Linked DNA regions of Homo sapiens: regions 1, 2, 3, 4, 5 and 6 are each linked to region 7. The links are contacts of gene promoters, found by promoter capture Hi-C in blood cells and fetal thymus (Javierre and others, 2016). All regions are on one chromosome and are shown on one strand. Each heading gives the region's core, a stretch centred on a gene start or on the middle of the fragment in contact. The rest is flanking DNA. Distances are from core to core; before and after follow the strand shown. Region 1 overlaps XXYLT1 (xyloside xylosyltransferase 1). Region 2 overlaps PPP1R2 (protein phosphatase 1 regulatory inhibitor subunit 2). Region 3 overlaps ACAP2 (ArfGAP with coiled-coil, ankyrin repeat and PH domains 2). Region 4 has its middle 12 kb from the start of PPP1R2. Region 5 overlaps ACAP2 (ArfGAP with coiled-coil, ankyrin repeat and PH domains 2). Region 6 has its middle 7.4 kb from the start of ACAP2. Region 7 holds the start of LSG1 (large 60S subunit nuclear export GTPase 1).

Evidence for each region. The method cuts DNA at HindIII sites, captures the fragments that hold promoters and counts their contacts. A CHiCAGO score of 5 or more calls a contact.
Region 1: a fragment that was not itself captured here is called in contact with the fragment with the promoter of LSG1 in region 7 in 17 of 17 cell types (naive CD8 T cells, naive B cells, total CD8 T cells and 14 more); the score reaches 35.2 in naive CD8 T cells.
Region 2: a fragment that was not itself captured here is called in contact with the fragment with the promoter of LSG1 in region 7 in 10 of 17 cell types (fetal thymus, naive B cells, naive CD8 T cells and 7 more); the score reaches 11.8 in fetal thymus.
Region 3: a contact is called between a fragment that was not itself captured here and the fragment with the promoter of LSG1 in region 7, in 1 of 17 cell types (naive CD8 T cells). The highest score is 5.9, in naive CD8 T cells.
Region 4: a fragment that was not itself captured here is called in contact with the fragment with the promoter of LSG1 in region 7 in 7 of 17 cell types (fetal thymus, naive CD4 T cells, non-activated CD4 T cells and 4 more); the score reaches 15.1 in fetal thymus.
Region 5: a fragment that was not itself captured here is called in contact with the fragment with the promoter of LSG1 in region 7 in 5 of 17 cell types (total CD8 T cells, naive CD8 T cells, M1 macrophages and 2 more); the score reaches 8.6 in total CD8 T cells.
Region 6: a fragment that was not itself captured here is called in contact with the fragment with the promoter of LSG1 in region 7 in 1 of 17 cell types (naive CD8 T cells); the score reaches 8.0 in naive CD8 T cells.

What each region holds. Positions count from the first base shown.
Region 1 is chr3:195,254,756-195,257,651 of GRCh38, reverse strand. The region is part of intron 1 of XXYLT1 (xyloside xylosyltransferase 1); the gene reads left to right. Among named protein-coding and RNA genes, the nearest start is that of XXYLT1, 15 kb to the left of the region's middle. RefSeq lists a silencer at 1,379-1,553. The HindIII fragment of the contact is 1,614 bases long and covers 567-2,180 here.
Region 2 is chr3:195,519,305-195,522,026 of GRCh38, reverse strand. The region is part of intron 4 of PPP1R2 (protein phosphatase 1 regulatory inhibitor subunit 2); the gene reads left to right. Among named protein-coding and RNA genes, the nearest start is that of PPP1R2, 23 kb to the left of the region's middle. The HindIII fragment of the contact is 457 bases long and covers 1,039-1,495 here.
Region 3 is chr3:195,302,278-195,305,177 of GRCh38, reverse strand. All of the region lies in intron 13 of ACAP2 (ArfGAP with coiled-coil, ankyrin repeat and PH domains 2), which reads left to right. Among named protein-coding and RNA genes, the nearest start is that of XXYLT1, 33 kb to the right of the region's middle. The HindIII fragment of the contact is 2,701 bases long and covers 223-2,900 here.
Region 4 is chr3:195,553,970-195,556,793 of GRCh38, reverse strand. It overlaps the pseudogene RN7SL73P and the pseudogene RPL24P6. Among named protein-coding and RNA genes, the nearest start is that of PPP1R2, 12 kb to the right of the region's middle. The HindIII fragment of the contact is 9,159 bases long and covers 1-2,824 here.
Region 5 is chr3:195,283,230-195,285,929 of GRCh38, reverse strand. ACAP2 (ArfGAP with coiled-coil, ankyrin repeat and PH domains 2) reads left to right here. Exons shown (of 23, transcript NM_012287.6): 22 at 73-134. Among named protein-coding and RNA genes, the nearest start is that of XXYLT1, 13 kb to the right of the region's middle. The HindIII fragment of the contact is 1,060 bases long and covers 798-1,857 here.
Region 6 is chr3:195,449,021-195,451,720 of GRCh38, reverse strand. No RefSeq gene overlaps it. Among named protein-coding and RNA genes, the nearest start is that of ACAP2, 7.4 kb to the right of the region's middle. The HindIII fragment of the contact is 8,844 bases long and covers 1-2,700 here.
Region 7 is chr3:194,670,690-194,673,521 of GRCh38, reverse strand. LSG1 (large 60S subunit nuclear export GTPase 1) reads left to right here and starts at 1,331. Exons shown (of 14, transcript NM_018385.3): 1 at 1,331-1,458. The coding sequence starts at 1,360. The HindIII fragment of the contact is 1,582 bases long and covers 1-1,338 here.

The sequences.
Region 1 (2,896 bases), core at 124-2,623, 580 kb before region 7:
CAGGGAGAGCTACGGGGCCCGTGCCGGCCCAGCCAGGATGTACCTGGCTGCCATGGTGATCCACCTGGCTGGACTGCCTGGGGTTGTGGTGTACCCCGGCCACTTCCCATCTCTGGGACTTTGCTCAGGGGCTTCTTCCCCGGATCACCCATTCCTCCCATCTTCATCTGATTAACTCGCCTTTCATGATGAAGCTCGGACGGTGCCAGTTATGTGGGGACCTACCTCTCACCTCCACCCTGGTGAGCCCCTTTCCCCTGGCTCCTGCCGAGCTGACACTGGCCCTTCTGCCAGCTGCTGGGGGATGAGCACTGTGTCTTATTTCATTCTGTGTCTCCAGGATGTAGTGGCGCAGGGCCTGGCATGGGTAAGACTGCATAGGCTCGCACACTGGAGGAGCTGGATGCCAACACGGTGGGCAGTGGGGTGTGAGTGCAGCCATGGAAGGCCGGGGTGGGATGGCTGGGCACCGATGCCCGTCAGATGTCCTGTGCACATGCTGCTCAGACTTGCGGGACATGGCGTCCTTGGCCGCTTACAGAGGCCTCAAGCTTGTAAAGAAAGCTTCCCGGTCCCTCTTGTCACGGGTTCTCCTGCAGAAAGTCATCCAGCCTGACACTAGCCATGAAGTGTCAGCGGTGTTTTGGGTTTTGGAACTGTCCCCCTTGCATTACCATGAAGAAATGCTGATGCTGGCCCTTGGGAGGTACAAGGGGCTTCACTTGTCTCCCTTACCTGAGAGCCCTGGGAAGGTTGCTTGGTCTGCCTAGAGCCCCGGCTGGCAGGCAGTGCCCTGGGCAAGCTCTTCAGCCTGCACCTGCCCCTGGGCGCTCACTTCAGCTGGAGTGTGGTGGACAGAGTCCTGCCCAGATGTTATTGATCCTGAGTTCTGGGTCTTCCTCTGACCCTGGCTTCTGTTAGCAAGGCCTTCTGATGTCTTTGCCTCAGTTTCTCATCATAAGAGGAGTGGGGACGCTCCGGCTCTGAGTAACAGTCTGTTCTCTTCCAGGCGTGTATAAACAGTGCTGGGGGCTTACAGAGCTCATGCCCTTTCCAGACCCCATCCTGAATGTGCGGGTGAGAAGTTGCGGGGTGTGAGGAGGCTGCTCTTCCCCTCTTTCTGGGATAATCCCTGGAATGACCCTAGGTGAGGCTTCCGTGCTGACTTCCCTTCCGTCCTCTGGGAGGTACTGGTTCGTTTCTCGGGCCCTGCCCTGTGCAGGGCCGCACCTCAGGCCTGCGCGGAGCATGAGGGCGAGGGACTTGGAATGACCAGAGCTGTCTCAGGTTTATCGTCACCGTCAATGAGCCACAGTTGCCACCATCGCAGGAGACCCTGGGTGGCAGGCACCATGCTGGATCCTGCTTTTCCTCCCTCATTTAACCTTGGAGCAGCCAGGCCTGTGAGGGGTAGCTAGTCTCCCCTAGGAAGAGGCTGCACAGATGAGCTTGCTCGGAGCCATGATTGGAGTCCGGCTTGCTGATTCTTCAGCACTCTGCCCGATGCCTGTTGATTTTGGCGGTTTGTTCTTGTCCCTCCAAAGCCAGGAATGCTCTGTGAGAGCTGGGGCCCCACCAGAAGGGTTCCCACGGTGCCCCTGTGCCTGCTGCTGGCTGGGTGGCCTCTTCCCCTGGTCAGCTGGGTGGCACAGAACAGGGGAATCCCAGGGCTGCCCGGGGTGGACCTTCCCTCCCTCCTCCAGGAGCTGCCCATAGAACAGCAGGGAGCCTCTTTCTAGGAGGTGGGATTTACAGGCTGAGATGTTGGAGCCCCACCTCCCTCATTTAGCTGCAGAAGAGGTCTGGGTTGGAGGGAGTCCAGACTCTGGTCCTGGAGTTGAGTCTATTCATGTTATCCATGAGAAAACGGGGGCCCAGAGAGGCCAAGCAACTTGCTCAGGGCCACACAGCTGCTCAGTGGACAAGGGAGACTGGGAGCAGCTCTCCTGTGCCCTCTCTGGTTCCCTGCACTCATGGTCTCCCTGCCTGCCTTCCCTTGTGTTCGGAAGCCAGTTCTACGCTGTGCTTGCTCTGTGCGCCGGTTTGTCTTCTGTTTTGGTTTCTAGCCTGACACAGCTTTTGGATCTCACCCACTTGTGACTCCCTGCAGTCGTCTGTGTTTTGTGGACAATGAAAGGCTTTGCTCCACGTCCACTGATCGGCTGCTCCAGAAGGAAGCTTTGCAGCCTCCTCAGCTGCAGGCCCAGAGTCATGGCTCCCTCCAACCCATTGCCTGGCCCTGCTCAGCCCACTTGGATGGAGCTGAGTCCCCAGCCCGACTGGGTCCTGCTGGGGGCTGAGCTCGTGGGTGCGAGCCGTGTGGGGTAGGGAACCCCGCTGCTGTCTCCCACCTGGCTCTGCACTCCTGCAGCCCCAGTCCTGCCGTGACTGTCACAGGGATCTCCAGGCCTGGTCGGCGGCTCCCTGTTGTGCGAGCATGGTACTCGGAAACCGCCTTTTCTGCTGGTTTAGTCCGACTGAAGCTCCTTGCTGAGGGACTGCATTCCCTCTGCAAACCTATGGCCTTATGGGTCTTTCTGATGCTGCTGTTATCCCCTGCTCTGTCCGCAGTGCTGGTGAATTTCCCAGCCTGGGGCAGTTGGGGACAGGGTCCGAGTCTGACTTCTTTCTCTTTCCTGTGCAGCGGGTGTGGGAATGGGCGTGTGTCTCTTGAATGAGTATGGTGTTGGCTACAGATGGGCCGCTTTAGATCCTGGCTCTACCTCATCTTTCTGGGAGGTGGGGGGTAGTTGTTTACATTCTCTGAACCACCTCCTCTCTGTAGCAGGGGCCCAGTCCTATCACCTGCCCCAAAACATTGGTGTGAGGGCGACGTTAAGTGACTGAATGTGCACAGCGCAGCTGTTTGTGCTTGACGCGTGCTAGGTGGACCCTT
Region 2 (2,722 bases), core at 18-2,517, 850 kb before region 7:
TTCACTTGTTGTATTCATATAAATAGTCTGCCTTAACCTTTTTAAATGTTAGTTATGACTTATTAAGAATCATGATGGCCGGGTTTGGTGGCTTATGCCTGTAATCCCAGCACTTTGGGAGGCTGAGACAGGAGGATCTCTTGAGGCCAGGAGTTTGAGACCAGCCTGGCCAACATGGCGAAACCCCATCTCTACTAAAAATACAAAAATTAGCCAGGCATGGTGGTGGGCGCCTCTAATCCCAGCTACTCGGGAGGCTGGGGCACAAGAATTGCTTGAACCTGGGAGGTGGAGGTTGCAGTGAGCCGGTATCATGCCACTGCACTCCAGGCTGGGTGACAGAGTGAGACTTTGTCTTTAAAAAAATAAATAAGTACATAAATAATCATGATGCACAGTTTCAAAAACACTGGCTCATACTGAGAAAATAATAGAACAAATGCACAATATATTTTATATATATAGTCTTAAAAACATTGAAAATTGCTGATATACCTTCACAAAATAAAAACAAACCAAAAGAAACATTGAAAACATGAAGGAAATCAGAAATCTTTAACCAAAAATAGGGAATTAAATTATGACTCAACAACTTGTAACGATTTTAAAATTACATAAATCATTATGGCAGAATGTTTACTGTATGTTCATATACTTTATTGTCTAAACTGGGTAATTATTGCAGTTCTTTTTTTTTTTTTTTTTTTTTTTTGAGACAGAGTCCTGCTCTGTCGCCCAGGCTGGAGTGCAGTGGCGCGATCTTCGCTCACTGCAACCTCCACCTCCCAGGTTCAAGTGATTCTCCTGCCTCAGCCTCCTGAGTAGCTGGGATTACAGACGTGTGCCACCACGCCCAGCAAATTTTTTGTATTTTCAGTAGAGACGGGGTTTCACCATGTTAGCCAGGATGTTCTCAAACTCCTGACCTCATGATCCGCCCTCCTCGGCCTCCCAAAGTGCTGGGATTACAGGCGTGAGCACTGCGCCCGGACTTCAGTATAAGTTTTAAAAATATAAGTATAGATGTTGATAAAAGCTTAGGGAATTAAGAAAGTACTGGCCAGGTGCGGTGTCTTACACCTGTAATCCCAGTGCTTTGGGAGGCTGAGGCAGGTGGATCACTTGAGGTCAGGAGTTCAAGACCAGCCTGACCTACATGGTGAAACCCCGTCTCTAGTAAAAATCAAACAAAGAGAAAGTACTTTGGAGGCCAGGTGTGGTGGCACGCATCTGTAGTTCCAGTTACTTGGGAGGCTGAGGTAGGAGGACTGCTTGAGCCCAGAAGTTGGAAGCCAGCCTGGGCAACAGTGAGATCTCATCTCTAAAAATTAAAATTTAAAAAAAAGAAGAAAGTACTGTAAATACCCTTATTGAGAGATGTCTCTGCTTTTTAAAAAGTAAATAAATAAATTTTTGAGCTACGGTCTCACTTGTCAACCCAGGCTGGAGTGCAGTGGCATAGTCGCGGCTCACTGCAGTTTCAGCCTTCTAAGCTTAGCCAGTCCTCCCATCTCAGCCTTCCCAGTAGCTGGGACCACAGTCGTGTACTACCACACCCAGCTAATTTTTTGTAATTTTTTTGTAGAGATAGGTTCTTGCCATGTTGCCCAGGCTGGTCTTGAACTCCTGGGATTACAGGCATGAGCCCCAGCATCTGGCCTCTGTGCATTTTTGACATTGAAATATTTTGATGAAATTTTTAATAAAACAATGGTGAAGCCAGGCGCAGTGGCTCATGCCTGTAATCCCAGCACTTTTGGAGGCCAAGGCAGGCGGATCACCTGAGGTCAGGAGTTGGAGACCAACCTGGCCAACATGATGAAACCCCGTCTCTACTAAAACTACCAAAATTAGCCAGGAGTGGTAGCACATGCCTGTGATCCCAACTACTCGGGAGACTGAGGCAGGAGAATCGCTTAAACCTAGGAGGCTAAGGTTGCCGTGAGCCAAGATTGCACATTGCACTCCAGCCTGGGCAATTAGAGTGAAACTCCATCTTGAAAAAAAGAAAAAATAAAACAACGGTGAATAATTTTAATGCTGTTCATTGGTAAAATAGCTGGCAATTTTATATTGGCCCCCCCTTTTCTGTTGTTTTTTTTTTTTTTTAATTTTCTGATCTAAGGAAGTTAAAAACCTTAAAATTATGTATTCATAAATAGTTGCTCTAGTGTGATCAGTTGTGTTGCTGCCAGCTTTATGTTTCTATGGTGAAGACTAAAATGAAATATTTTGGAGTCACTTCACCATTACTTTATAATACGTTTTTCTTAAAATTACTCTGAAAATGAGGTTACGTTTTTAGCCAACAATGTCTTAAATCATGGCAGTTTCTTAACAGGTAAGAATTGTTTTAAAGGATTTTTTCTTAATTATAAAAATAGAAAATAATAAAATATTAAAACTACTTCATTGTTCCTTGACTCAGAATTAAACACTGTTAATTGCTGAGTCTTATTTTTCTCTCTGTGTGTGTATGTGACAGGCATTGTACATAGTAAATATAGTATATGGTGTTGTAACTCGCTCTTTTGTCACCATTTAACTCTTTCTGGATAATTTTCCCATAGCTTTAATCTTTCTTCACAAATATAATTTCTAATGGCTGGATATATTCTTGTTCTTCCATTGAGATGAATGCCAGATAGTAAATATTTTAAATTTTGCAGGGCCCAGTGGTCTCTATTACGAACTACTCAACTCTGCCATTGAACACAAAAGC
Region 3 (2,900 bases), core at 324-2,823, 630 kb before region 7:
AGTTCTGCTAGCACATACTTAATTTCCAAGAGCTGTGTTTGTTCACTAAATGTTTACAGATATAGACCTGTTCTTTTTTCGTGGAATCAGTGTTAGAGCTGTGGATCTTAACCATCATTGCATACTATGATGTCACCACACAGGGAGCTTGAAAAACCCCCATTGCTTAGGTACCACCCCAGAACACTTGAATGGAGTTGGGCATCAGTACTTTCACAAGCTTCCTGGGTTAGTTCCATAAACAACCAATGTTGAGAGCTATTGCGTTAGAGGCTTCCTTTGGCTATCTCATCATAAGTGTTAGGCACTAAAAACTTCTTTGGAAACTCTGAGCACAAAATTAGGACTTTGTTGACTGTGGCCTTTGTCTAAGTCTGGACCATTTGTTGAGGAACAACCATCGTCAGGGTCTTTTTGAGTCTTTTCGGCTGATGTGATTTCCCAGAGAAGACTCATTGATCTCCTGCATAGCTATGAGGGATTGGTGGGGAGCTAAGCACTGGGTATCTTAGCATATTGTATGTATATGTTCATTTAATCCTCTGGCTTCCACCTTTCAGGTGAAGTCGATTCAGAGACTCTGTTTTAATCCTCCAGAGAATAACTTCCAGTCATTGTGTTTGTGTAGAGAGCAGTCATCCCCTAGTGGCATGGAGATGGGGGGCAGCGACAGTAGGATTGAACTGTCCTGCTTAAACAATCATTCCTCCTATTAATACTTTCGTGAATTGGTGTCATATTCAGTGCTGTGTTCCTTGAAGTGGCTGACCCAAGTTTTGCTGTGTTTGTGTACTTAGTTCTCTAATTTGGTGCAAAAACATTAGCATATAGAGAAAACTTGGGAATGAACCAACATGATTTCTGTAATATAATATTGATATTCTTTCCTTACATAATTGCTAATTCCCATTATCGAACATATTCTGGTAAAACAAATATTTCTTTCTTAAAATTTCGGAATAATCCTAAACTTACAGGGAAGTTTTTTTTTTTTTTTTTTTTTTTTTTTTTTTTGAGATGGAGTCTCACTCCATTGCCCAGGCTGGTGTGCAGGGGCACGGTCTCAGCTCACTGCAACTTCCACCTCCCAGGTTCAAGCGATTCTGCTGCCTCAGCCTCCCTAGTAGCTAGGATTACAGGCATGTACCACCATGCCCGGCTAATTTTTTTTTGTATTTTTAGTAGAGACAGGGTTTCACCATATTGGCCAGGCTGCTCTCGAACTCCTGACCTTGTGATCCACTCACCTCGGCTTCCCAAAGTGCTGAGATTACAGGCATGAGCTACTTTGCCTGACCTGAAATGTTTTTAAACCAGAAGACTTTTTATAGACCATATCTGTCATTGTTTAGGATCTAAGTACCACATCTTTGTATTCGGTCATTATGGCCATGTAGCAGGATGGCGGGGAGACAGAGTCTTGCCCTGTTTCCCAGGCTGGAATGCAGTGGTGTGATCATAGTTCACTGCAGCCTTGACCTCCTGGGCTCAAGCAGTCCTCCTACCTCAGTCTCCTGAGTAGCTGGGACCACAGGTGCTTACCACCATGTCTAGCTTATTTGTTTGTATGTATGTATGTATTTATGTACATATGATGGAGTCTCACTCTGTCACCCAGGCTGGAGTACGGTGTCATGATCTTGGCTCACTGCAACCTCTGCCTCCTGGGTTTAAGTGATTCTCATGCCTCAGCCTTCTGAGTAGCTGGGACCACAGGTGTGCACCACCATGCCTAGCTAATTTGTATGTATGTATGTATTTATGTACATATGATGGAGTCTCACTCTGTCACCCAGGCTGGAGTGCGGTGGCATGATCTTGGCTTACTACAATAGCCCCCTCCCGGGTTTAAGCAATTCTCATGCCTCAGCCTTCTGAGTAGCTGGGACCACAGGTGTGCATCACCATGCCTAGCTAATTTGTATGTTTGTATGTATGTATGTATTTACGCTCATATGACGGAGTCTCACTCTGTCACCCAGGTTGGAGTCTCACTCTTGTCAACATGATCTTGGCTCACTGCAACCTCCGTTTCCTGGGTTTAAGCTATTCTCATGTCTCAGCCTCCTGAGTAGCTGGGATCACAGGTGTGCGCCACCACGCCCAGCTAATTTTTTTGTATTTTTAGTAGAGACAGGGTTTCACTGTGTTGGCCAGGCTGGTCTTGAACTCCTGGCCTAAAGTGATCCACCCGCCTCAGCCTCCCAAAGTGTTGGGATTACAGACATGAGCCATTGTGCCCAGACATATTCTTTTTTAGAGACAGGCTCTTGCTCTGTTGCCCAGGCTGATCTTGAACACCTGGACCCAAGTGGTCCTCCCGCTTCAGCTTCCTAAAGTGCTGGGATTACAGGGGTGACACCGCTCTCGGCCAAAAAATTAACTTTTTGTTAATCAGCCATCTTTTGCTTTTCTTCTCTTTTACCTAATATCCCTTGAAGTTTTAAACATTGTATGTTCTATATTTGATTCACTCTGTAGTTATAATTTTGTAGTTGATCTCTTCTTTACTATTTATATAAGCTCATACCTTTCCTAGTTACTCACTGCAGTAATTAACTTGCCTTATCCCTGAGAGGTCTGAAAAAAAAAACAATGACTAGCTTAAAGTTTATTGAACGCCTTGGAAAAGTGTGGTATAAAACAATAATATTTATTTCATTCTTGAGTTTGAATAATCCCTTACCTATTTCCTCTGTCTCCACCCTGCATGTTAGACTAGTGTTCCCTTTCTGTCTTCATCTTTTGTACATATGTTCATTGTGTCATTTATTATATATAATTTTAAATGTTTACACGTTTCTCCCCACTGGAATAAAAGCTCACTGATGGAAGAACCTACATCTTTTTATCCTTGAATTTCTAGCTAGACTATTGCCTTGCTTATGCCTGTAACAGGC
Region 4 (2,824 bases), core at 269-2,768, 880 kb before region 7:
CTATTCTGCTATTATTAATCAAGATCTCAAAAATCGCAAAATAATATATTGAATTCTGAAATATTAATTATAGAACCTATAAATTACAAATCCTGATTTGTACCAAACATTACAGGTGACTGCAAGCAAGTTGTCTCAAGCATTTACAGCTGGGATCCACCCAGAAACGATCATCGTTAAGAGTCTCCACGTGTCAGCTCAGCGTCTCATCCACAGCAGCGCCCCCAGCTGCCTGCTGATGGCTCCATCCCCAACTCAGTCTTCGTGGCTCCGCATCCATCGTAGTACAAACACTATGCCTTTGGAGAGGACTGCCTTAGAGTCCACAGCTAACGTCTATAGAAATCTAGCAATTCTATCAAGAAAAAGCAAAATTAAAATGCCAAAAATCAGGCAAAAAGAAAAGAAAAAAGCACAGGATACTCCCAATAGGTGCCAAAAGAGAAATGATTTAGGTACAGTGTGTTGGGGAGAACTGACCTGGAGCCTGCTGGAGTTGCTCAGAGTCTACAGGGAAAGATAAACAAGAAAACCAGCCATGTAGATGTGGAGATCAAATAAGACGAGAGGCTGTAATAGAGGGTAGAATGAGGGATTCTGGGAGAACAGAGGAGGGCCACCTGATGCTGCCCTGAAGAGGTGGAGAAGGCTTCATTCCAGAGCAAATCCTGAGCTGCGTTTGGAATAAACGAGCTGGAGGTAGTCAAAAATTGAAGGGGGAGGCCGGGCGCGGTGACTGATACCTGTAATCCCAGCACTTCGGGAGGCTGACGCGGGCAGATCACGAGGTCAGGAGTTTGCGACCAGCCTGGCCAACATGGTGAAACCCCGTCTCTACTAAAAATACAAAAATTAGCCGGGCATGGTGGTGTGCACCTATAATCCCAGCTACTCGGGAGGCTGAGGCAGAAGAATCGCTGGAACCCAGGAGGTGGAGGTTGCAGTGAGCTAAGATCGCGCCACTGCACTCCAGCCTGAGCGACAAAGCGAGACTCCATCTCAAAAAAAAAAAGAAAGAAAGAAAAGAAATAGAAGGGGGAGGAGGTGGTATCCCAGGCAGAGGAAAGACTGCCACCAAGTAGGAACTCAATTCTGTAGCACCTAGGGTCCGGGACCCTGCAGAGGAGAAGTAGAACAGGTGGCCAAAGGCCAGATCACTGACAGCTTTGTAAACCATGACATGGAGCTCAGATTACAATCTGAAGGTGAATTGATTCAAGGACTCAATTCTAGGAAACAATTTAACTTACATCTTAAAAATGAAATCCAAATACCAACTTGTTAATTCACGGTAGGAAAAAAGTCACTAAAGAACAAATCGAGGCTGGAGTTCTCTAAAAGCAAATGCTCTGTCTTCAGGTTGGCTACAGAGAATGCCAGGATCTGATGAGGAAGGGGCTGGTAAAGCCCAGGCAGCTGACTAAAGCAGAGTCATTCATGACGCTATGGGGATCCACCTACCTCCTGCCCTGGGAGGGGTACCGTCCGCAGCACTGAGTGATGGCTCTAGCAGCAGAGGGGAATGGAGAGGGGATGCACGGGCCTGACAGCAGGAGGACCTGTGAGATGGCCAGTGCTCCACTGTGTCATGACGAGGGCCTGAACTAGAAAGTGGAAGTAGAAAGGCGAAGGCAGATTTAGGAGATTTTTATTTTCTTCTTATTATTAGAGTTATAATCCAATCTTTATTTAAAAATCTAATCTGCCAGTTTAGTGTTTTCCACCAACTCGGGGAGCTGAAACTTCCACAGGCTTCACAATCTTTTGCTCAGGTGCTGCCTTTGTAGGTGCCGTAGCAGCAGCCCTTGCAGTCTTTTTAGATGCTTGCTTAGCCATTTTTTGCTTCCTTAGCAGCCCTGATAGCTTGTTCTCTTTGAGCCTTTCTAACTTCGGGTTTCTGATTCCTCTTGGCCATTATAGCAGCAAGAGATACACCGTAATGGTCTTCTGGAATTTGACTGCTCGGTGGGTTCTTTTCTTTTGAATTTACTCCGACTGCCCCTTTTTGTGCTTCCTTCTGTAGAGGACAGTCCAGTTTATCTGCGGAGGATTCCTCTTGGAAAGGAACGCCAACTTGCATTTTGAATTAAGAAACTGGAAAACCCTCCCGTCGGTCCTGGCGTGGCGCCTCCCGTGTCCGGGGTAGATCTTGTACCTGCTGAAACTGCACAGGTCAACCTTCATGGCAGCGGCTCCACGGGAAGAGAAATGATGGCAAAGAGAACTATTATTATTATTTTTTGAGATGGTGTTTAGTTTTGCTCTTGTCGCCCAGGCTGGAGTACTGAGGTGTGATCTCGGCTCACTGCAACCTCCACCGCCAGGTTCAAGAGATCCTCCCTACCTCAGCCTCTGGAGTAGCTGGGATTACAGGCACCCACCACCAGGCCAAGCTAACTTTTGATTTTGTTGTTGGTTTTGTTTGTTTGTTTGTTTGTTTGTTTTATGAGATGGAGTCTTGCTCTGTTGCCAGGCTGGAGTGCAGTGGCGCGATCTCGGCTCACTGCAACCTCCGCCTCCCAGGTTCAAGCGATTCTTCTGCCTCAGCCTCCAGAGTAGCTGAGACTACAGGTGTGCACCACCACACCCAGCTAATTTTTGCATTTTTTTTTTAGTAGGGATGGAGTTTCACCATGTTGGCCAGGATGGTCTCGATCTCTTGACCTCATGCTCCACCCGCCTCAGCCTCCCAAAGTGCTAGGATTACAGGCGTGAGCCACCACGCCCAGCCTAATTTTTGTATTTTTAGTAGAGATGGGGTTTCACCATGTAGGCCAGGCTGGTCTCGAACTCCTAACCTCAGGTGATCCACCCACCTCAGCCT
Region 5 (2,700 bases), core at 78-2,577, 610 kb before region 7:
CTGTTTATAGACTTTATTTATGACATTTATATTATATAATGTCATCTAAAACACTATTTTATTTATTTTTAGGTTACGTTTAGCAAGAATGAATGAAGAGATGCGGGAATCAGAAGGACTTTATGGACAGCCAGGTCAATATTCTACTAATAACCATACTGAAATGCAGTATAAGAAATGCATTCAGGAATTTATCAGTTTACAACTGGAAGATTCATAGTTCTTTAGCAAACTAATGTGATACTATAGAGTTTTTATAACCCACTTGTAAATTGTGAGTTGTTAGCTTTGTACTGTACTTAACTGAATCCTTGGGTGGCTAATCCCGGGCCTTTAAACATTCGTAACTCTTCCTATGACAGTACACATTGACTTGCTCTATTTCACTCTGGCTGCTGACTTCTTTATTTGCTGTACGGATGTCTTCCATATACATTCCAGTGAAATGAATGGAATGGTAAAAATATTCTTCATATACTTACAGCAGCAAAATAGTTGTTTTCTTTTTGGAATTCTTTTTAGCTGTCAAGTGAATATAACAAAATTGTTTTCTTTTTGTTATTCAGGGAATTTCTATAAATTACGTTCAGGGAAAAAAAAAATCACCATGTGTCTGGCATATAAAAAGCCAGTATGGAAAATACCAAGAAAAAGTTTACTGATGAGTTTTGTACTACAATCTAAAAATGAGTTGAAGATTTAAAATGAAAATTCACCAGGTGGAGAAGTCCATGATGTGAGTGGAGCTAGTTTGAAAGGCTGAGGGCAAAGGTCTCATTTTATCTAAAGCTAAAGCTTTGCCTCCAGGCAGTTGTACATTATCTCTTAGATAAGCGGAAGTATTTAGAACAATACTTTTTGCACCTGATGGCAAAGTAGATTTATTCTACTTGAGAAATTTCAATTCATGATCACCTCAAGTTTCATTTTGAGTAATTTTCACCTTTGAATCAAGATGTCAAGGAAGAAGTATCAGATTCTTCTCTTTGAAGAACACGTTGATTAGACGTTCTTCACAAAGAAGAGAGTAATTATTGGTTTTCTTGTTTCATGAATTTGAGTATATGAATTACTCATCTGTCTGTTTTAAATTTATATACACATTAGTAAAAAATTTCATGAATTCGTGACTAAAATACTTGAGAATATTCAGTTTGCAATGAGTAGGTTTGGTTTTTTAAAAATGAATATTGATACATTATTTTTAAAGTGACCTGGTAATATCATCTCTTCTTCCTGTTTAAATACATTTTGAAATTTCTGTACTTCAGCCATTTATTTTAACGAGATTAATATATAGTTAATGTGAGGCCGTTCTTTCCTCAGAGGACCGTATTTACTACTGCTTATTTTTGGCCTAATTTAATGTGGAACAAGTAAGAACGTTAAGAATAGAGGCACTTCAGCTAGATATTTCTAATCTAGGGTGTCCCACTTGAATCCTATGGATCATACAATAGTAGGCGGCTCATGATGTTCCGAGATGGAAGAGTGCTGATGAAGGGTGAAGCTCTAGCGTTCATTCTGGATTTCACCCATTTGTTTCAAACTTGAATGTTAGATTTTAAATAGGTTATAATTTTATAACAGATATTCTTAACTGATAGTATTACTAGGCCGTTTTTGAGGCCTTTGTGTTTAAGCACTTTAAAATAAAAATTGTTTAAAGAATATGACCTGATATTTGTAAGAGAAGAGTGAACCTCACGATTTTAAGTTAAACAATTATTTTCCCCCTGACATTTTTAACTTCAGTGTTTGGTTAGCTGCTCTTTCCTTACGGTGTCTGCTGATGAAGTTCACCCAGCTGATTAGCCAGGTGGTCAGTGGTCGACTCTTCTCTGGAGTTGGGAAGCTTGAAAGGAAAGGGCCTCTAAGTTCTTGCCACTTCTAGTTCCACCCAAATTGTTTGGGTGTCTGCCACCATCATTTAGGAGCATTCAAATGTCTTCCACTGTCATTTTTGAGTTTATATATACATAAACTTAAAATGTATAGAAAAGATTTTACCAATTTAATTTAATGAAAACTTGAAAAAAAAAGCCTCATTTTAAAACAAGCTCTCTTACCATTCTCACATTTTAGTTTAGAGGTTAAAAAATAGACCAGAATTCTGGAAATAGTATATCAGAATAAAATTGAGATATTTCTGATTTATTTGAGGATCATCTTGAGAAGGGTTAGATTTTTAACTCATTCAGAGGGCCTAATATTTAAAGCAGGATGATTTTATGCTTAGACAGGGGACATGGTGAAATGGCATAGCAATTGCTCTTCGGTTTCTGTTCTTTTTCTTTATGAGACAGGTATGTTTGGCTCAGGCAGCGGCTGTTTGTTTTTCCTCTGCTTATCACTGTACATTTTTCTATCAAATGCTTTGGTTGCTTGTTTTATTGAGATCCTTTTTTGGTTTTCTTAGCAATAGAATGAAAACCTCAGAACTCTGGGTAAATTAAATGCAGGTATTTTTAATCTTTTGATAATGAAGAGCTCTTATCCTTTAAAAGATTCAGATGTAATCTTTGGCAATCACTGATTTATTTCTAGGAAACCCCACTTGTGAACTTTCTATCTGTACAACCCTAGGGACCTGGGACTCCCTGTTTCTTGCGTGGGGTGATTGAGAGCACACGTTTTCTTCAAAAGAAGGTGTGTCTCTCTTTGGCAGTCCCAGTAGCCCTTAGGAGACATGGGTGGGTG
Region 6 (2,700 bases), core at 161-2,660, 780 kb before region 7:
GCAGGAAAGGTTGGCAGGTGCTGGATATTGAAGGGACCTTATTTGTGAAATTAGAAATTCAGTGTTTATCCTACAGACCTGTGGTTTTCCAACTATACTCAGTGGAGCTGTGAGTGCTCCTTGGAGTCCACACAGGGGCCATCCGGGGGTGGGCAGTGGGGCCAGGCGGGCAAGGCTCTGGGTCTCCCATTCCTGTTTCAACCTCACCAACTCTGCTTTTGCCTACTTAATGGTGGGCATCAGTGAAATACTTTTTCTTTTAAATAAAGGGTTTCATAGTTAGGGAAAGCTGAAAAATGATAGCTTAGGCAATGACCAACCCTTGAAGAATCTTAAGCAGGAAAGTGGCATGAGTTTCCCAGGTGGAAAGACTTGGAAACAGTGGCAAATGCTGAGGAGACGTCAGGAAAACAAGTACTGAAAGTGTGCTTTGGGTTTGGCCGTTGGAAAGTGACCTTCCTGAAACAGTTGGTAGGGAGCAGGGGTGTTGGAGAGAGTGGAGAACAGAATGCAGAGGATATTGGAATGAATGGGAGGAGAAACTGTGGAGTAGGGAGTGGAGACTGTGCTGTTAAAGAGTCTTAGATATAAAGCAACGGAAGGAGATTTGGCAATAGTCAGAGGGGAATTTTTCCAACTCACATGTCCCCCTTCTTGGCTAAGAGATTTCCCAACTACAAGGTCACAGGGGCAGACTCTCAGGAGCCATGTTTGTACACAGCTGCCTCCTTGACTGTAGTTGATTGGCCTCTGTGCGGGGTACAGCATCCAAGGTGGGCCAATACTTCCTCCAAGAAATTTAGATTTGGGGCCTAGAGAGAAAGCCCATCCTCTCCGGTTGGTTGGGTAGTGTTGGGAGCTGCTGCCTGGAGAGTCAGATGAAGTAAGCTGCAGATGTGGAAATGGGCAGACAGGAAGGAGCTGCCGGCTTTACAGGCCCTCGTTCTAAATCCTTCTCAAGTTTCAAGGAAAGCCAGCCATCTGGTTCTGGGTGAAACTAACCCATCATGAACCCTTTGTTTTCATTAACTCACATAGTTTCTCTTACAACAAAAATAATCCTTTCTGATACAGACGGTGTATGATTTTCTTCTCTTTCTTCCAAAGACAGAAGAATGGTCAGTTGAGAGTTTGAAGGTACAGAGAAGGAGGGGATAATTGATAGAGCCATTCTCCAAAGAGAACAGAAGGGGTGGATTCCCTAGAGCACAGATCAGGAGTGGCAGAAAGAGATGCCACCTTCCTCTGAGATAGGTGGGTAAGAAGTAAGAAAAGTGCGAACATAGATGAGTATGTGGGCTGGGGGTAGAAGAGTGTTCCTAATGACTCTTATTTTCTTTTTGAGGACCCAATGTTGTTTGCAAATCATGAGTGGGGTGGGGCACATTTGCTGGGAGGCTTGAGGAGAGCAGCAAGGTTTGAGAACAGCCATTGTGCCAGTGGGCCAGGGAACTGGTCACAGATAAATAATACAAAGACAGTTGAGATGAGGCGCGGTGGCTCACGCCTGTCATCCCAGCACTTTGGGAGGCCGAGGCAGGTGGATCACCTGAGGTCAGGCGTTTGAGACCAGCCTGGCCAACGTGGTGAAACCCCGTCTCTACTAAAAATAGAAAAATTAGCTGGGTGTGGTGGTGGGCACCTGTAATCCTAGCTACTCGGGAGGTTGAGGCATGAGAATCACTTGAACCTGGGAGGTGGAGGTTACAGTGAGCCAAGATTGCGCCACTGGACTCCAGCCTGGGCGACAAGAGCAAAACTCCATCTCAAAAAAAAAAAAAAAAGACAGTTGCAAATCCTAAGTATGTGGTGGTGAACACAGTGATGGAGACTCAGTGATAGAGTCTCATGTGCTGGTGAATGCAATGATAGAGTCTCCCTAAAAGCCTTCACCCATTTGCCTACTTATTCCCCCTTAAAATACAAATCAGGCCACGTACAGCAGCTCATACTTGTAATTACTTCGGGAGTCTGAGGCAGGGAGGATCACTTGAGCTCCGGAGTTCCAGATCAGCCCCAGGCAACACAGTGAGACCCACCTCTACAAAACGTACAAATATTAGCCAGGCGTGTGGCGTGCACCTGTACTTCCAACTACTCGGGAGGTTGAGGATGGAGGATCACTTGAGTCTGGGAGGTCGAGGCAGCAGTGACTTATGATCACACCAGTGCACTCCAGCACAAATCAGATGATACCATTCCTCTGTTTAGATTTTTCCAATGGCTTCCTGCTGCTTTACAATAGAAATTATTTCTAATCTTGCTCAGCAACTAGGAGAGGAGAAAGCAGAAGGAAAATGCTTGGATCAATCCCGAGCTGTGGGTATGAAACTGCCCTGAGGTGGAGGGAGAGACAGGGTGGTATACCAACAGCCTGGGAGAAAAAAGGAATACTGGCATGGGGGTGGGAGTGGGAACGTGAGTATGAAGTGAATATATGGGAATGAGACAACTAGAGACATCTATGCTGAGCTTGTGCATGGGATGTTCTGGGTGAGAAAATGGTATAAGATGAGAACATTTAAGGACTTTCTGAAGCAACATATTTTGAGATAAACTTTCTCCCCTTTCTATGAATAGCACTACCTATTACCCAGTCACCCAGATCTGCAACCTGGAGTCATCCGAGGAGTTGTCTTTATTTTTTCCTTCTCCCCACATTTGGTTGGCCATCAGATTCTTTCAATTTTTTAAATTAAT
Region 7 (2,832 bases), core at 82-2,581:
GGTAATATATGCATTACCTCGATCCTATGATTTAAAAATACATGTTTGGCCAGGCGCAGTGGCTCATACCTGTAATCCTAGCACTTTGGGAGGCCGAGGCGGGCGATCACCTGAGGTCAGGAGTTCGAGACCAGCCTGGCCAAAATAGTCAAACCCTGTCTCTACTAAAAATACAAAAATTAGCTGGGTGCGGTGGCACGTGTCTGTAATTCCCGCTACTCGGGAGGCTAAGGCAGGAGAATCACTTGAACCCGGGAAGCAGAGGTTGCAGTGAGCCGAGATCATGCCTTTGCACTCCACCTGGGGGACAGCGAGACTCTGTCTCAAAAGATAAAAATAAATAAATAATACATGTTAACAACCCTCATTCCCCACTCTCCCCAGGGGTGTACAGGCTAGTGACAAGACTTGGGTTTATTCCTGACACTGCACGCACTCAATCTACGACTTGCTCAAGCTGCTTCCTCTCTCCAAGCATCAAAACAAAGAGATGGTTCTCTGGATCAATGAGAATGTAGTTCACCAGCCACTCTAAGCTGACTTTCTATTATTCCCATTATAGGGAAATCAAACATTCAAGTGAGGAACAAAAGCCCAGGCCTCTAGGAGTGGAGCTGGCTCACTGTTTTCACTTTCATTTTAATTATTTTTAAAAAGGGTAATGAAAATATAATTAGAACTGTTTAAACATTTTTTTTTTCTTTGAAATAAAGCGTAAGTCACTTCCTGTTGGCTTTTCCTACAACCTTGCCAAGCTCTGGAAATACTATTCAGCCTCTCATTCCAAATTCACATCCAGGCGAAGACTTTTCTCCCCAGTTCGCAGCTGGGGTCGGCTAGATAAACAAAAAGTTAGTTGCTGTGCTGGACCTCGGAGAGACCACACCTCGGGACGCCAGCAGAAAACCAGCGCTGGGAAACGCCCCCGTCCCAGCGCCACCGAAACACTCTTCCTCCGAGTCTCCGCGTCCTCCTGACGGAAGCAGCGGAAGGCGGAGCTAGTGCCGCGAATAGGAACCGCCATGTTTCCGACGTGCTCTAGTTTCTCGCCGGACGCTAAAGACCGACGCACAAATTAAGAATGGACCATTCTTTTAACTCAGTCATTTATCCAAACTCGAGACATTCGCCAGGAAATCTATCGAAAATTTCCCAGAACCATTTTTTCACTTATATTCTATAATACTGGTAAAATCGAGACGTAAAAGGAGAACTTGAGAACAAGTCATTCTGCTTTCCCCTCTCAAGTTTGAGCCTGAACTACTTGGGCTCGCTTATCGTCACTTCCGGGGATCGAACTGTGAATCCCGGAAACTGCACGCGCCGAGCCGGGAAGCTTCGTCCAGCGGTCGTGTTGCCATGGGCCGGAGGAGAGCCCCGGCCGGTGGGTCGCTGGGACGGGCCCTTATGCGCCATCAGACTCAGCGGAGCCGAAGCCATCGTCACACTGACTCCTGGGTAAGACAGACCATGTCATCTTTCTTATCTTTTCTGTCTAGCCTGAGTGCTGCAAAATTCGGGGTCAAAAGTCAGATAAGTTTTGCAGGAGGGACGCCTCAGCCGGGTTTTGAAGGATGAGTTGGAGTTTCTGCCAAGCTGAGTAGCAGGCCCTCCTCCTGGCAAGGCCCAGAACACAAAGGTAGGAGAAGCTTGAAAGAAGAGTTAGTGTGGTGATGAGGCGTGGAGTGAGAATCTGAAGAGTCTTCAATGCCAGGTCTTGAGTACGTTTGGGTTTTGCCCTAGAAGCCACTGAAGTGCTTGGAACTTCCAGAGCAGGAAAAAGACAAAACGTATTTTTGTATTGATTTGTTCAAAGAATGGATCCTCCAGAAGCGGTTGGTTACTGCCAGAAATATAAAATAATTCAGATCCTTGCCTCATCCTTGCGAAGCACCCCCTAGTGGTTTAGCTCAAAGATAAATCATTGATTTTTCAGGTGTGACAAGACCTAATATTTTACTAGGTTATAGAAGGATCTTTAAAAAAATGAATGAAGTGATTTGGCTTGTGTTCATCATTCTAGTCGTTATTTTCACCATTCATTCCCCCGGGAATGAATGAGAACATGTTGAGTGCTAAGATCGTGTGCTAAATTTAGTTAAATATGTCCCTGGAGCTAAGTAAGCGTGTGCCACTGTCACACCAGCTGACTTTCATCCATATAGTCTGCAGAGTAAACAGCATGGAGTGCTTATCAGTATTCATCAGGTCAGAGTTACTCTGGACATTAGATTACTGGTAATTTTTATTAGCTTTGAAGCAACTTGTTACTAATGAAGCCTTTTAGGAAACTGTGGGAAGATTGAACATGAATGGTAAAGAATTGGATCCTAATTCCTTATTTTTGCTGATTCTATGCCCACTTAAACTTTTGGCCCTTAATATTTATTTAGGAAATTCATTCATCATTCAGTTATTCATTTTTAGAGACAGGGTCACACTCTGTCACCCAGGCTAGAGTGCCAGTGGTGTGATCATAACTCACCAATTCACTACAGTCTCAAACTTCTGGGCACAAATAATCCCCCTGCCTCAGTCTCTTGAGTAGCTGGCATTACAGGTGCACACCATCAGGCCTGGTTGTTTGGTTTTGTTTGTTTGTTTTGGAGAGACAGGGTCTTGCTGTGTTGCCCAAGCTGATCACAAACTCCTGGCCTCAAGCAATCCTCCTGCCTTAGCCTCTTGAGGAGCTGGGGTTACAGGCACAAACCACCACGCCTGGCAATTTTTTTTTATTTGTATCTATACTAAGTATATAGCTTAGGGTGATGGTTATCAAACTCTGGGTTGTGTCTGGAAGTCAATTTAGTGGTCTGCAGCTAGCTGTTTTGT